Regions from separate parts of the Homo sapiens genome. Here region 1 is linked to region 2. The links are contacts of gene promoters, found by promoter capture Hi-C in blood cells and fetal thymus (Javierre and others, 2016). All regions are on one chromosome and are shown on one strand. The core of a region is centred on a gene start or on the middle of the fragment in contact, and the rest is flanking DNA. Distances in the headings are between cores, read along the strand shown. Region 1 has its middle 9.0 kb from the start of GAPT. Region 2 holds the start of LINC02108 (long intergenic non-protein coding RNA 2108).

Region 1 (6,373 bases), core at 1,034-3,533, 59 kb before region 2:
TCAAAGGAGGCCTCACTGGAGACCATTTAAGCTGAGACTTGAAGGCAGAAGGAAGCTATAATAAATGTGATGGGCAGAGAGTAAGAATGGGACCCACCCGTGAAAAGAATCTGGGGCCTAAGAGAATTTATGGTGCTCTAGGAAGCCATTGTGGCTGGAGTTTCCTGAGGAAGGGTTGGAGTGACACCTGCTGCGTTGGTGAAGGAGGGAATGGGAGACCATGAGCTTCTCATAAGTCTTAGTACGTGGCTTTGACTCTATTATAGGTGCAACGGGAATCAGTAAAGGGTTTTAAGCAGAGACGTGATGATGACACTAGCATTTTTAAAAGATTTACTGGGTTGAGAAGTGACTGGAAAGAGGCCAAAATGGAAGTGGGTAGGATAGCTAAGAAGCTTCTACATTTAAGTTAGACTAGAGTGGCTGCAGTGCAGATAAAGACATTGACAATGCTGCCTGTCCTTCAAGGAGACGGCACAGGACTTACTGATGGACTCAGTGTGTGTGCTTGATAGGGGAGGGGCAAGACTGGAGTGTGGGAAAGAGAAGAGTCTACAGGGATAATTGCAAAGTACTTTACAGAGATGAGGAAGACTTAAAGAAGAAACAGGCTTGGAGGCCACATCAGTTAGGAATGAGTTGGGCTGCTAATGACAGAAAACCACACTCCAGGGGCTTGGACACTGATAGTTCCATTTATTTCACCTAACAAGGAGGCTACAGTTAGGCATTTGATGGCTAACATCAGCTCAATGATACCATATAGAAAGACCCAGGCTCTTTCTCTATTTCCTCTCTGCCACCCTTAGTGTTTCAACTTTTATCTTCATCTCTATTGCCTCATGGCCACCATACAGCTGCTGAATCTTTAAGCCTTCTATTCATGCTTCAGCCATGAAGAAGAAATGAGGGGAAAGAGCAGAACCAGGAGATATCTACTTATCTCATTGCTCAGAATTGTGTCACACAGACACCATCTGGTGTAGGAGTGCATGGACAATTGAATTTTTACCTTTGGTAACCTCATAGAGTGGGCAGAAAAAGAAAAGTGGAGTTGAAAATAGAATGTGACTCAGTCAACCTCTAATTCTTGCGACAAGGGCAAAACTCAGTTTTGAACATATTTATTTTGACATTTCCTGAAATATGTCCTGAGACCCAAGTAGAAATATCCAGTTTGCCGTTGTATGTGCACATTTGGATTTTAGAGGAGAGGTCCTGGCTGGAGATGTAAATTTGACAGTCATGAGCATTTAGGTGGTATTTACAGGAATAAGAATGGATGCCATCTCCTGGGAAGACACCAGGGGGAGCACAGAGTCGGGAATCAAGAAAGGAGGAAAGGGAGGAATCTAGAAGTTTTCCAGAAATTGTAGTATTTTGAGGATAAATTAATGAGGAGACTCTGGTATAGGTGGCTGAGAAAGAGTGGCCAGTTAGGAGATCTCTATATGGCATCATTGAGCTGATATTAGCCATCAAAAGCCTAACTGCAGGTTCCTTGTTAGGTGAAATGAATGGACTATCAGTGTCTAAGCCCATGGAGTGTAGTTTTCTATCATTGACAGCTCAACTCATTCTTAATACAGCCTCCAAACCTGTTCCTTCTGTAAGTCTTCCTCATCTCTGTAAAGCACTTTGCAATTATCCCTGTATACTCTTCTCTTTCCCACACTCCCAGTCTTACCCCTTCCCTACCAAACACACACACTGAGTTCATCAGTAAGTCCTGTGCCATTTTCTTGAAGAATGGGCAGCATTGTCAATGTGTTTATCTGCGCTACAGCCACTCCAGTCTAATGTAAATGTAAAAGCTTAAATGTAAAAGAAGTAAAGTCCTATGATCTCTAAGAATGGTGGTTTGTGTTGTAAAATATGTGATGTATTGACATTTGTCCATTATAATTGATTATCCAAAGTGTCAAAAGATGAAATTTCAATAGATTAAGTTTAAAGATTGAGCTAGTTTTATCAGCAATTCATAAATCTGGCAGCATCCCATTTGAAGGTTTAAACAGGTACTCCATTGGGCTTGGCAGAAGAGTCCATTTTCATAAGGCAACTTAAGCAAGGACGATAAAACAGTATAATATAAAAAAGAGGATTGGTTAACATCAGGTTACTTTAGGTTACTTTTCTTGCAATTACTGAAGCACAGGGGACTTCCTTATCATTCAGGCTAAAACTGGTCTGTTTGGGGATTTGGCTATTATCTCTCTTCTGATGTCTCAGAAAGTCAGATAAACAAGTTTCAGTTTGGTGGGATGGAGCTTTGGCCTGAGTGACTCCATTTACATTTGGTCTGTTGGAATCTAGTGCAAAAGCTCACTAATCTAATCAATGGACTCGCATAAATTTCATTTAACAAGAGATGTAGTGAATATTTGACGTTTGTTTACTCTCTTTGACCAGAAAAGATAGTAAAAGAAGTATTTAGTCAATGGTTCTTTACCTAATTCTTACCTTGACTTCCTTTTAAAATTAATTGTAAGTTCTTTATCAATTGCTGAGGGGAATAAAGAAATACATCATTCAAGTTTCTCTTTTTACTATACATACCCTCCATTCTTCACCCCCTCTCCTATCCTGTCTTCTCTCCCTCCCTCTCTCATTTCTCCTCCTTCATCAATATGCTTCCTCCACCTCTTTCTTCTCTTTTTTCTAACTCTATCTTTCTCTTGCCTTCAAATTCCTATCTCTTATCTGCATTCTTTATTACAGCATTTCTTTGCCTTCTCAAAATCTCAAAAGTAAAGCTTGTGCACAGGAAATAAAGATGATAAAGTCTGTCTGCATCAGTTGAAAGCAGCAGTTTCTCGTTTGGGTTACACTATTTAAAAAAGGAACCACATGTAAACAATTTAAAAGGAAGGATGTTGGGGGTGGGGGAAAAGAGACAGTAGCATCGAATATACTGAGTATGACTTTGTTACAGACACACTTAGGTGTGTTCACATTCCATGACTTACAGCCAGTTCAAGACTGGCCAGCATCCAGCAACAATGAGCACCTGATGTCTTGACCTTGCTTTCAGCCTCCAACATGAAACATTTTACTGCAATTTGCTTTATACTTCACTTCTCACCCTATTATTGATCTCCACAACAATTGGATCCCTGATAAGCCCATTGAAAGCCTTGCTTTACAACCTCTCAGTTACTTCTTTGACCAGGGCCTGTGGGCAGATTGGGATACTGGGCTCCAAGGAGGAGAGCTAAAAGAAATCAAAAAGGGGAGGTGATGCCTGTATCCACATTGTTACAGGCTGGAGGTTTGTGTTCTCTGAAATTCATACGTTGAAGCCTTACTTCCCAACGTGATGGTATTTGGAGGTGGGGCTTTGAGAGGAATTAATAATTAGGTTTAGATGAGGTCATCAGGGTGCAGCCCTCATGATGGAATTAGTGCTCTTATAAGAGAACAGAGTTCTCTCTCTTTCTCTCTCTCTCTCCTTCTCTCTCTCTCTCTCTTCCTCCCTTCCTTCCACCACCCCCTGCCCCCACCTCCCAGCACCATGTGAGGACACAACATGAAAGCAGCCATCTGCAGGCCAGAAAGTGGGTTCTTACCAAGAAACAAATCAGCCAGCACCTTGACCTTGGACTTCTCAGACTCCAGAACTGTAATAAATAAATGTCTATGGTTTTAGGCACCCAATCTATGGTCTTTTGTTATAGCAGCCCAAGCAGACACATGTTAAACTGCTATTCTAAGCCGTAATAACTTTTTCTTTAAATTCAGAGAGTGACAAGTCTAATATTTAATTTTTAGTGCTTACCTTACATGATCACTTTCTGGTATTGTACTCTTGCTCCCTCTTTTTCCCCACTTAACATCCTTTGAAGCTTGCTTTTCTCTTGTACAACCTTCAGTGGAGTGGTTCTTCATGATCTTTCCTTGGTTCCCAGCTCCTTTTCCTATTCCTCTTTCCCTCGGTGATCAAGACATTTGTATTTGAACTCTTCTGCTCCAATATTTTTTTGAAGCATTTAACCATATAGCTCAGCATCTACTACTTATTTTTACCTGATGTCCTTCAGATATCTGAAATCCAACATGGGCCAAACTAATGGATTGGGGTCAAGATTGGAGTGTCACTCAGAAATAGAGATGGAACTGTGATGGAATAGAAGACTCAGAGATAAAGGGAGGATATCCATTGCATAGGTTACTTAATAATAATTTTAAAAATTTAACCATTCAAAATGTTCAAGTGTCATAAACATCAACCTCAAAATATCATGGTATCAGTATACCAAGTATGGTAGTCTCCCTTATTAATGGGGAAAATGTTCCTGCACCTCCAGTGGATGTGTATATACACTATATTTTTTCTATATGTTTGTATCTATGATAAAGTTTAATTTATAAACTAGGCATAGTAAGAAATTAACAACAATAATAAAATGGAACAATTACGCCAATACTCTGTTCAAAACTTCACGGATAGAAATTCATTTTTACCATCAACTTTAGCTAACTCGGGATACAACTTTTTTCTTCCTTAAGTCAAGAACTTTTACCTTTCACTGAAAGGAAGCACTTTACAGCTTCTCTTTGCCATATCTGAATTGCCAGCATCACTCTTCTTGTGCATTAGGTGATTTTAAAGTAAAATAAGGATGAATTGAACACCAACACTGTGAAATGTGACAGTCAATCTGATAACCAAGCCTGTCACTCAGTGACAAAGAGAAAGGAAGCATCTATGGCATGGAGATGCTGGACACAGGAATGATTCACATCCCAGGCAGGACAAAGTGAGATGAGGCAAGATTTCATCACACAACTTAGCACAGCACACAATTGAGAACTTATTGAATTGTTTATTTGAAAATTTCCATTTAATACATATGGATCATTGTTGACCACTGAAAACTGAAACTTAGGAACGTGAAACCACAGGCAAGAGGGGACTGCTGTCCTGAGTAGTGGCATCTTCAACATCAATACCTGACTCAAACAAACAGTGTGTGACTGCGATTCCCAGTCCCTGAAGCCAGGTGGTGTCACATTTGGAAAACAGTGTGTTTTTCCTCTTCCCTGGCTTCTGAGTGAGAAGCTCTAAAATGCACCACTGTGTATGTAGCAGCAAGAAGGGGTCCAGGGCCTGCTAGGCAGCAGGCTAGAGGACTTGTTTGACAACTACAGGTGCATGGCTTAGTAAAGCCATTTATTTTATTGAATTCAACACTTTCATTTACTGCTTGTTTTTAAATCTTCTTAGGATAGTTGTATTAAACAGAAGCTAAAAATTGACGTTCAATGGAATATGTCATGAAAAAGAAAATGACCAAGAATTTTGGAATTTTTTCACTTTGAGTATCAGTGAATATCTAAGATATCAGTAAAAAATAGGAAGACTGCAAATATATCTTGAATGAAAAGCACATGCTAGTGAACACCCATAGTGGGATGGAAAGGAGGTTGCAGAATATCAAGATTAGGAGACTTACAGCAAATGGCTTAGATGATCTAGCAGGGAAAAGTGCTTTCAGTCATGTAACAAATATTTATCAAATGCCTATGACGTAGTAAGGCCTAGGAGCGCACTGGGGATTCAGGAGTGGGGTTGTTGGGTGAAGGTTGGAGAAATGGACACTGCCCCAATACTCAGAATGTTCACAAACTACAAAAGAGGTATGCTATTTACAGGGGTTACTGAAGTACAATAATGGTACAATAAGGAAGCACATGGTGTAACAAAAGACCAAAGCCAGGGTGTAGGAAAGCTTTCCCATGGAAAGTGACACCTAAACTGATATCTGAAGGACAAGTAGGAGATAGCCAGGTAGAGGCTGAGGGAATGGTCCTCCAATAAGGGAGGAAAACATGTGAGGGTCCAGAGCATAGGGCGTGTTCAAGAATCTGAAAGAAAGTAAACACTTGAGCATCATGTGTAAAAGAAGGGTAAGAGGAAGGCAGTAAGCTGTGAGAAAAGCTCAGGTGATTCAGGGCTTTAAATAAGAAGTTAAGGAATTTGGACTTTATCCTAGTAATTGTGACATTTATGATATCAGAATATGATCTGAGAAGGCAGAAATGCTGCTGATTTTTCCAAAAAAAACCCACAAGGCATTGGAAGCAAAGAATTTCCGAGCTGCAATAGAATATGGGAAGCAAGATTTTGAAGTTGAGGACGTAAGACTTGATTTCAAGAAGCACATGTCAATGAGTTATAAGATAAATAGTGCTCTCCAGAGGTGTGTTTCTTTAAGCCTCTGCAGGTTTTAATTTAAATTCAGCTCCTGTAGTTTTGCATTTTAAGATTCTCCCAATAGAGAAGGGAATTAAGCAAATGAGAGAGCCTCAAACAAAAGGAAGCACAGAAGATGGTAAATTGCCAAATGCAATCAAGGCTGGTGAAGGTGTG
Region 2 (6,771 bases), core at 3,094-5,593:
ATGGAATATTCTTCCACTTGTTTGTATCCTCTTTTATTTCCTTGAGCAGTGGTTTGTAGTTCTCCTTGAAGAGGTCCTTCACATCCCTTGTAAGTTGGATTCCTAGGTATTTTATTCTCTTTGAAGCAATTGTGAATGGGAGTTCACTGATGATTTGGCTCTCTGTTTGTCTGTTATTTGTGTATAAGAATGCTTGTGATTTTTGCACATTGATTTTGTATCCTGAGAGTTTGCTGAAGTTGCTTATCAGCTTAAGGAGATTTTGGGCTGAGACAATGGGGTTTTCTAGATATACAATCATGTCATCTGCAAACAGGGACAATTTGACTTCCTCTTTTCCTAATTGAATACACTTTATTTCCTTCTCCTGCCTAATTGCCCTGGCCAGAACTTCCAACACTATGTTGAATAGGAGTGGTGAGAGGGGGCATCCCTGTCTTGTGCCAGTTTTCAAAGGGAATGCTTCCAGTTTTTGCCCATTCAGTATGATATTGGCTGTGGGTTTGTTATAGATAGCTCTTATTATTTTGAAATACGTCCCATCAATACCTAATTTATTGAGAGTTTTTAACATGAAGGGTTGTTGAATTTTGTCAAAGGCTTTTTCTGCATCTATTGAGATAATTATGTGGTTTTTGTCTTTGGCTCTGTTTATATGCTGGATTACATTTATTGATTTGCGTATATTGAACCAGCCTTGCATCCCAGGGATGAAGCCCACTTGATCATGGTGGATAAGCTTTTTGATGTGCTGCTGGATTCAGTTTGCCAGTATTTTATTGAGGATTTTTGCATCAATGTTCATCAACGATATTGGTCTAAAATTCTCTTTTTTGGTTGTGTCTCTGCCCAGCTTTGGTATCAGAATGATGCTGGCCTCATAAAATGAGTTAGAGAGGATTCCTTCTTTTTCTATTGATTGGAATAGTTTCAGAAGGAATGGTACCAGTTCTTCCTTGTACTTCTGGTAGAATTCTGCTGTGAATCCATCTGGTCCTGGACTCTTTTTGGTTGGTAAACTATTGATTATTGCCACAATTTCAGATCCTGTTATTGGTCTATTCAGAGATTCAACTTCTTCCTGGTTTAGTCTTGGGAGAGTGTATGTGTCGAGGAATTTATCCATTTCTTCTAGATTTTCTAGTTTATTTGCGTAGAGGTGTTTGTAGTATTCTCTGATGGTAGTTTGTATTTCTGTGGGATCAGTGGTGATATCCCCTTTATCATTTTTTATTGTGTCTATTTGATTCTTCTCTCTTTTTTTCTTTATTAGTCTTGCTAGCGGTCTATCAATTTTGTTGATCCTTTCAAAAAACCAGCTCCTGGATTCATTGATTTTTTGAAGGGTTTTTTGTGTCTCTGTTTCCTTCAGTTCTGCTCTGATTTTAGTTATTTCTTGCCTTCTGCTAGCTTTTGAATGTGTTTGCTCTTGCTTCTCTAGTTCTTTTAATTGTGATGTTAGGGTGTCAATTTTGGATCTTTCCTGCTTTCTCTTGTGGGCATTTAGTGCTATAAATTTCCCTCTACACACTGCTTTGAATGCATCCCAGAGATTCTGGTATGTTGTGTCTTTGTTCTCATTGGTTTCAAAGAACATCTTTATTTCTGCCTTCATTTCGTTATGTACCCAGTAGTCATTCAGGAGCAGGTTGTTCAGTTTCCATGTAGTTGAGCGGCTTTGAGTGAGATTCTTAATCCTGAGTTCTAGTTTGATTGCACTGTGGTCTGAGAGACAGTTTGTTATAATTTCTGATCTTTTACATTTGCTGAGGAGAGCTTTACTTCCAAGTATGTGGTCAATTTTGGAATAGGTGTGGTGTGGTGCTGAAAAAAAATGTATATTCTGTTGATTTGGGGTGGAGAGTTCTGTAGATGTCTATTAGGTCCACTTGGTGCAGAGCTGAGTTCAATTCCTGGGTATCCTTGTTGACTTTCTGTCTCGTTGATCTGTCTAATGTTGACAGTAGGGTGTTAAAGTCTCCCATTATTAATGTGTGGGAGTCTAAGTCTCTTTGTAGGTCACTCAGGACTTGCTTTATGAATCTGGGTGCTCCTGTATTGGGTGCATATATATTTAGTATAGTTAGCTCTTCTTGTTGAATTGATCCCTTACCATTATGTAATGGCCTTCTTTGTCTCTTTTGATCTTTGGTGGTTTAAAGTCTGTTTTATCAGACTAGGATTGCAACCCCTGCCTTTTTTTGTTTTCCATTTGCTTGGTAGATCTTCCTCCATCCTTTTATTTTGAGCCTATGTGTGTCTCTGCACGTGAGATGGGTTTCCTGAATACAGCACACTGATGGGTCTTGACTCTTTATCCAATTTGCCAGTCTGTGTCTTTTAATTGGAGCATTTAGTCCATTTACATTTAAAGTTAATATTGTTATGTGTGAATTTGATCCTGTCATTGTGATGTTAGCTGGTGATTTTGCTCGTTAGTTGATGCAGTTTCTTCCTAGTCTCGATGGTCTTTACATTTTGGCATGATTTTGCAGTGGCCGGTACCGGTTGTTCCTTTCCATGTTTAGCGCTTTCTTCAGGAGCTCTTTTAGGGCAGGCCTGGTGGTGACAAAATCTCTCAGCATTTGCTTGTCTGTGAAGTATTTTATTTCTCGTTCACTTATGAAGCTTAGTTTGGCTGGATATGAAATTCTGGGTTGAAAATTCTTTTCTTTAAGAATGTTGAATATTGGCCCCCACTCTCTTCTGGCTTGTAGAGTTTCTGCCGAGAGATCCGCTGTTAGTCTGATGGGCTTCCCTTTGAGGGTAACCCGACCTTTCTCTCTAGCTGCCCTTAACATTTTTTCCTTCATTTCAACTTTGGTGAATCTGACAATTATGTGTCTTGGAGTTGCTCTTCTCGAGGAGTATCTTTGTGGTGTTCTCTGTATTTCCTGAATCTGAATGTTGGCCTGCCTTGCTAGATTGGGGAAGTTCTCCTGGATAATATCCTGCAGAGTGTTTTCCAACTTGGTTCCATTCTCCCCATCACTTTCAGTTACACCAATCAGACGTAGATTTGGTCTTTTCACATAGTCCCATTTTTCTTGGAGGCTTTGCTCATTTCTTTTTATTGTTTTTGCTCTAACCTTCCCTTCTCGCTTCATTTCATTCATTTCATCTTCCATTGCTGATACCCTTTCTTCCAGTTGATCGCATCGGCTCCTGAGGCTTCTGCATTCTTCACGTAGTTCTCGAGCCTTGGTTTTCAGCTCCATCAGCTCCTTTAAGCACTTCTCTGTATTGGTTATTCTAGTTATACATTCATCTAAATTTTTTTCAAAGTTTTCAACTTCTTTGCCTTTGGTTTGAATGTCCTCCCGTAGCTCAGAGTAATTTGATCGTCTGAAGCCTTCTTCTCTCAGCTCTTCAAAGTCATTCTCCATCCAGCTTTGTTCCGTTGCTGGTGAGGAACTGCGTTCCTTTGGAGGAGAAGAGGCGCTCTGCGTTTTAGAGTTTCCAGTTTTTCTGTTCTGTTTTTTCCCCATCTTTGTGGTTTTATCTACTTTTGGTCTTTGATGATGGTGATGTACAGATGGGTTTTCGGTGTGGATGTCCTTTCTGTTTGTTAGTTTTCCTTCTAACAGACAGGACCCTCAGCTGCAGGTCTGTTGGAATACCCTGCCGTGTGAGGTGTCAGTGTGCCCCTCCTGGGGGTGCCTCCCAGTTAGGCTGCTCAGGGGTCAGGGGTCAGGGACCCACTTGAGGAGGCAGTCTGACGGTTCTCAGATCTCCAGCTGGGTGCTGGGAGAACCACTGCTCCCTTCAAAGCTGTCAGACAGGGACATTTAAGTCGCAGAGGTTACTGCTGTCTTTTTGTTTGTCTGTGCCCTGCCCCCAGAGGTGGAGCCTACAGTGGCAGGCAGGCCTCCTTGAGCTGTGGTGGGCTCCACCCAGTTCGAGCTGCTTTGTTTACCTAAGCAAGCCTGGGCAATGGCGGGCGCCCCTCCCACAGCCTCGCTGCCGCCTTGCAGTTCGATCTCAGACTGCTGTGCTAGCAATCAGGGAGACTCTGTGGGCGTAGGACACTCCGAGCCAGGTGTGGGATATAGTCTCGTGGTGCGCCGTTTTTTAAGCCGGTCTGAAAAGCGCAATATTCGGGTGGGAGTGAACTGATTTTCCAGGTGCGTCCGTTACCCCTTTCTTTGACTCGGAAAGGGAACTCCCTGACCCCTTGAGCTTCCCAGGTGAGGCAATGCCTCGCCCTGCTTTGGCTCGCGCACCGTGCGCGCACCCACTGGCCTGCACCCACTGTCTGACACTCCCTAGTGAGATGAACCCGGTACCTCAGATGGAAATGCAGAAATCATCCGTCTTCTGCGTGGCTCACGCTGGGAGCTGTAGACCGGAGCTGTTCCTATTCGGCCGTCTTGGCTCCTCCCCCCTTTTCTTTTGTTCTTAATGGTAAATAAAATAATGATGTATCTCGTAATCAATTGATGACATCTTAGAATTGATAAAATATGCTAAACTTCCTTCCTCCTTCTTCTGATCAAGTCACATAATATGTAATCTTAAAAACATTTATTTTAGCTGATTTTGATAAGCATCACATTGTATTCACAGTATTGTTCACATATATAATGTTTACATTAAACATTATTTCACATTTATTAATTATAACATGTAATCTTATATTGCATTGATGCTGGAGAAAAAATCTTTCATTTACTCCCAAATGTATATTTTCACTTCTTTTAAGGCATTTATTATAATAGTCCAAGATCAATTGCAAGTATTCATAAATGCAATAGGAAATGCTATAAATTGATCATTTAAAGAAATCTTAGTAGGTTTAGTTTTTTACAACAGAGCTGCATTGAACAATTACTGCACACATACACTGTGGTAAGGCTGAGAAAGCACACAAATGTTAACATGCAGCCCCAACCTCAGGAAGCTCAACATTTGTCACATTTAATGACATGAATTGATAAGGATTCTTTTTTGGTTTTGTAAGAGAAAAGGTCTTCTGTCATCCAGGCTGGAGTGCAGTGGCACAATCATAGCTTACTGTAACCTCAAACTCCTGGGCTTAAGTGATCCTCCCAACTCAGCCTCCCGAAATGTTGGGATTACAGGTGTGAGCCACTGCACCTGGCCTGAATGTATTCTTTCTAAGGAAATCTGAGGGGTCATAAATAGCATGGGGCACATAATTTTCTTTCTTTCAGATGTACCAAGAGGAAAAAAAAATCACAAACTTTGATAAGTAAAAGACATAAATAATATGATAGTGCTGCATTAAGTAGTACAAAGTGGAACACTTCAGATGTACCCAGCAAATGCTCTTGTTGAACAAAATAGTCTGGGTGTCTGTTCATTTCACTCATAATTACTGAGTGCCCACTCTATACTTAATATGAAGATGTGATGATTAGTTTTATTTGTCAACTTGGCTAGACCACAGTCCCTAATTATTCAATCAAATGTTAATCCAAGTGTTGCCATGAAGGCATTTTGTGTGTTATTAAAGTCCACAATCAATTGATTTTAAGTAAGGGAGATTATACTACATAATCTGAGTGGGCTTGATTTATTCAGTCCATTTAAAGGCCCTGAGAGCAAAGCTAAGGCTTCCCTGAAGAAGAAAAGCAAGCCCTATGAGGTAGCTATTAGCATTATTCCTATTTTACAGACTAGGACACTGAGGCTTAGAGTTCAATATCTGCAGACTTCAGTTCAACTCATGCCCAAGTTCCAAACTGTCCCTCCTGATATCCAGCCCTACAGATTTCAGACTTGTCCAGCCAGTCCCCAAAATCACTTAGGTCTATTTCTTGCAATAAATCACTTAACATCTATTTCTTACTGGTTCCGTTACTCTAGTTGAACCCTGACTTAATATATGAGAAGCAAGGGATACACAAGACAGACTCAGGCCTTGTTCCTACCAATTGTATGGTTTAGTGGAAATGTTACAGGAGAAGCTAAGTGATTACAAGACAGCCTTATGAAGGTAAAAGTACAGATACCTAGCTTAGACTTCAGAGTGTTACGAGTAAGAAAAGTTTCCTGGAAGACTGAAGTTTAATTTGAGAGTTGAAAAACTGAGTATGAATTAAGAAAGTAAAGTGTGTGTGTGCACATGCGTGTTGCAGGCAGTACAGTGATAAAGCATTTCTAGCAGAATACCTACCCTGTGCTAAAGGCTACAGGTAAGAGGGAGCATGGTACAATGGAAGACTGGTAGAAACTTCTGCAAAACTGGTGCACAGAGAGTGAAGGTGGAGTGCTGAGAGATAAAAACTATGGAAATGAGCAGAAGCTAGATCATGAAGTCTTGAGAGTCATGTCAAGTTGCTGGGCACACAGAAGCCACTTAAGGGTTTTTAGTATAGATAACACTTGATCACTTTTAGATTTGGGGAAAATCATTCAGAATGCAATGTGGAGAATTGATTGAGAGAAAATAAAGATTGGGAACTAGAAGAAATAATTCAAATGACTAATCATGGTGACCTAGTTTGGGTGAAAGCAGTGGGAATGGAGAGAATTGCATTGGAGAGATATTTAGACAGTGGAGTGAACAATACGTGGTGATTGATTGAATTTGAGGAATGATGGAGATTGAAAGTCATTGTCAAAACATGATTTCTCACCTAAATAAGTAGGTGGATGATGGGACCATTCACAAAGATGAGAAATAAGAAGGATTAAGTGTGGAGCAGAGGAAGACTATGTTTGAGGTACTTACGGGCATACTGTTGGAGATCACCAGTCAGCAGTTAGCTATGCCAGTTTAAAGGAGAGGAGATGATCTAGGTTCAA

The links. The method cuts DNA at HindIII sites, captures the fragments that hold promoters and counts their contacts. A CHiCAGO score of 5 or more calls a contact.
Region 1: a contact is called between a fragment that was not itself captured here and the fragment with the promoter of LINC02108 in region 2, in 1 of 17 cell types (M2 macrophages). The highest score is 5.9, in M2 macrophages.

What each region holds. Positions count from the first base shown.
Region 1 is chr5:58,497,229-58,503,601 of GRCh38, forward strand. No RefSeq gene overlaps it. Among named protein-coding and RNA genes, the nearest start is that of GAPT, 9.0 kb to the left of the region's middle. The HindIII fragment of the contact is 942 bases long and covers 1,813-2,754 here.
Region 2 is chr5:58,553,900-58,560,670 of GRCh38, forward strand. It overlaps LINC02108 (long intergenic non-protein coding RNA 2108), which reads right to left and starts at 4,344. Exons shown (of 4, transcript NR_109904.1): 1 at 4,287-4,344. The HindIII fragment of the contact is 10,011 bases long and covers 2,627-6,771 here.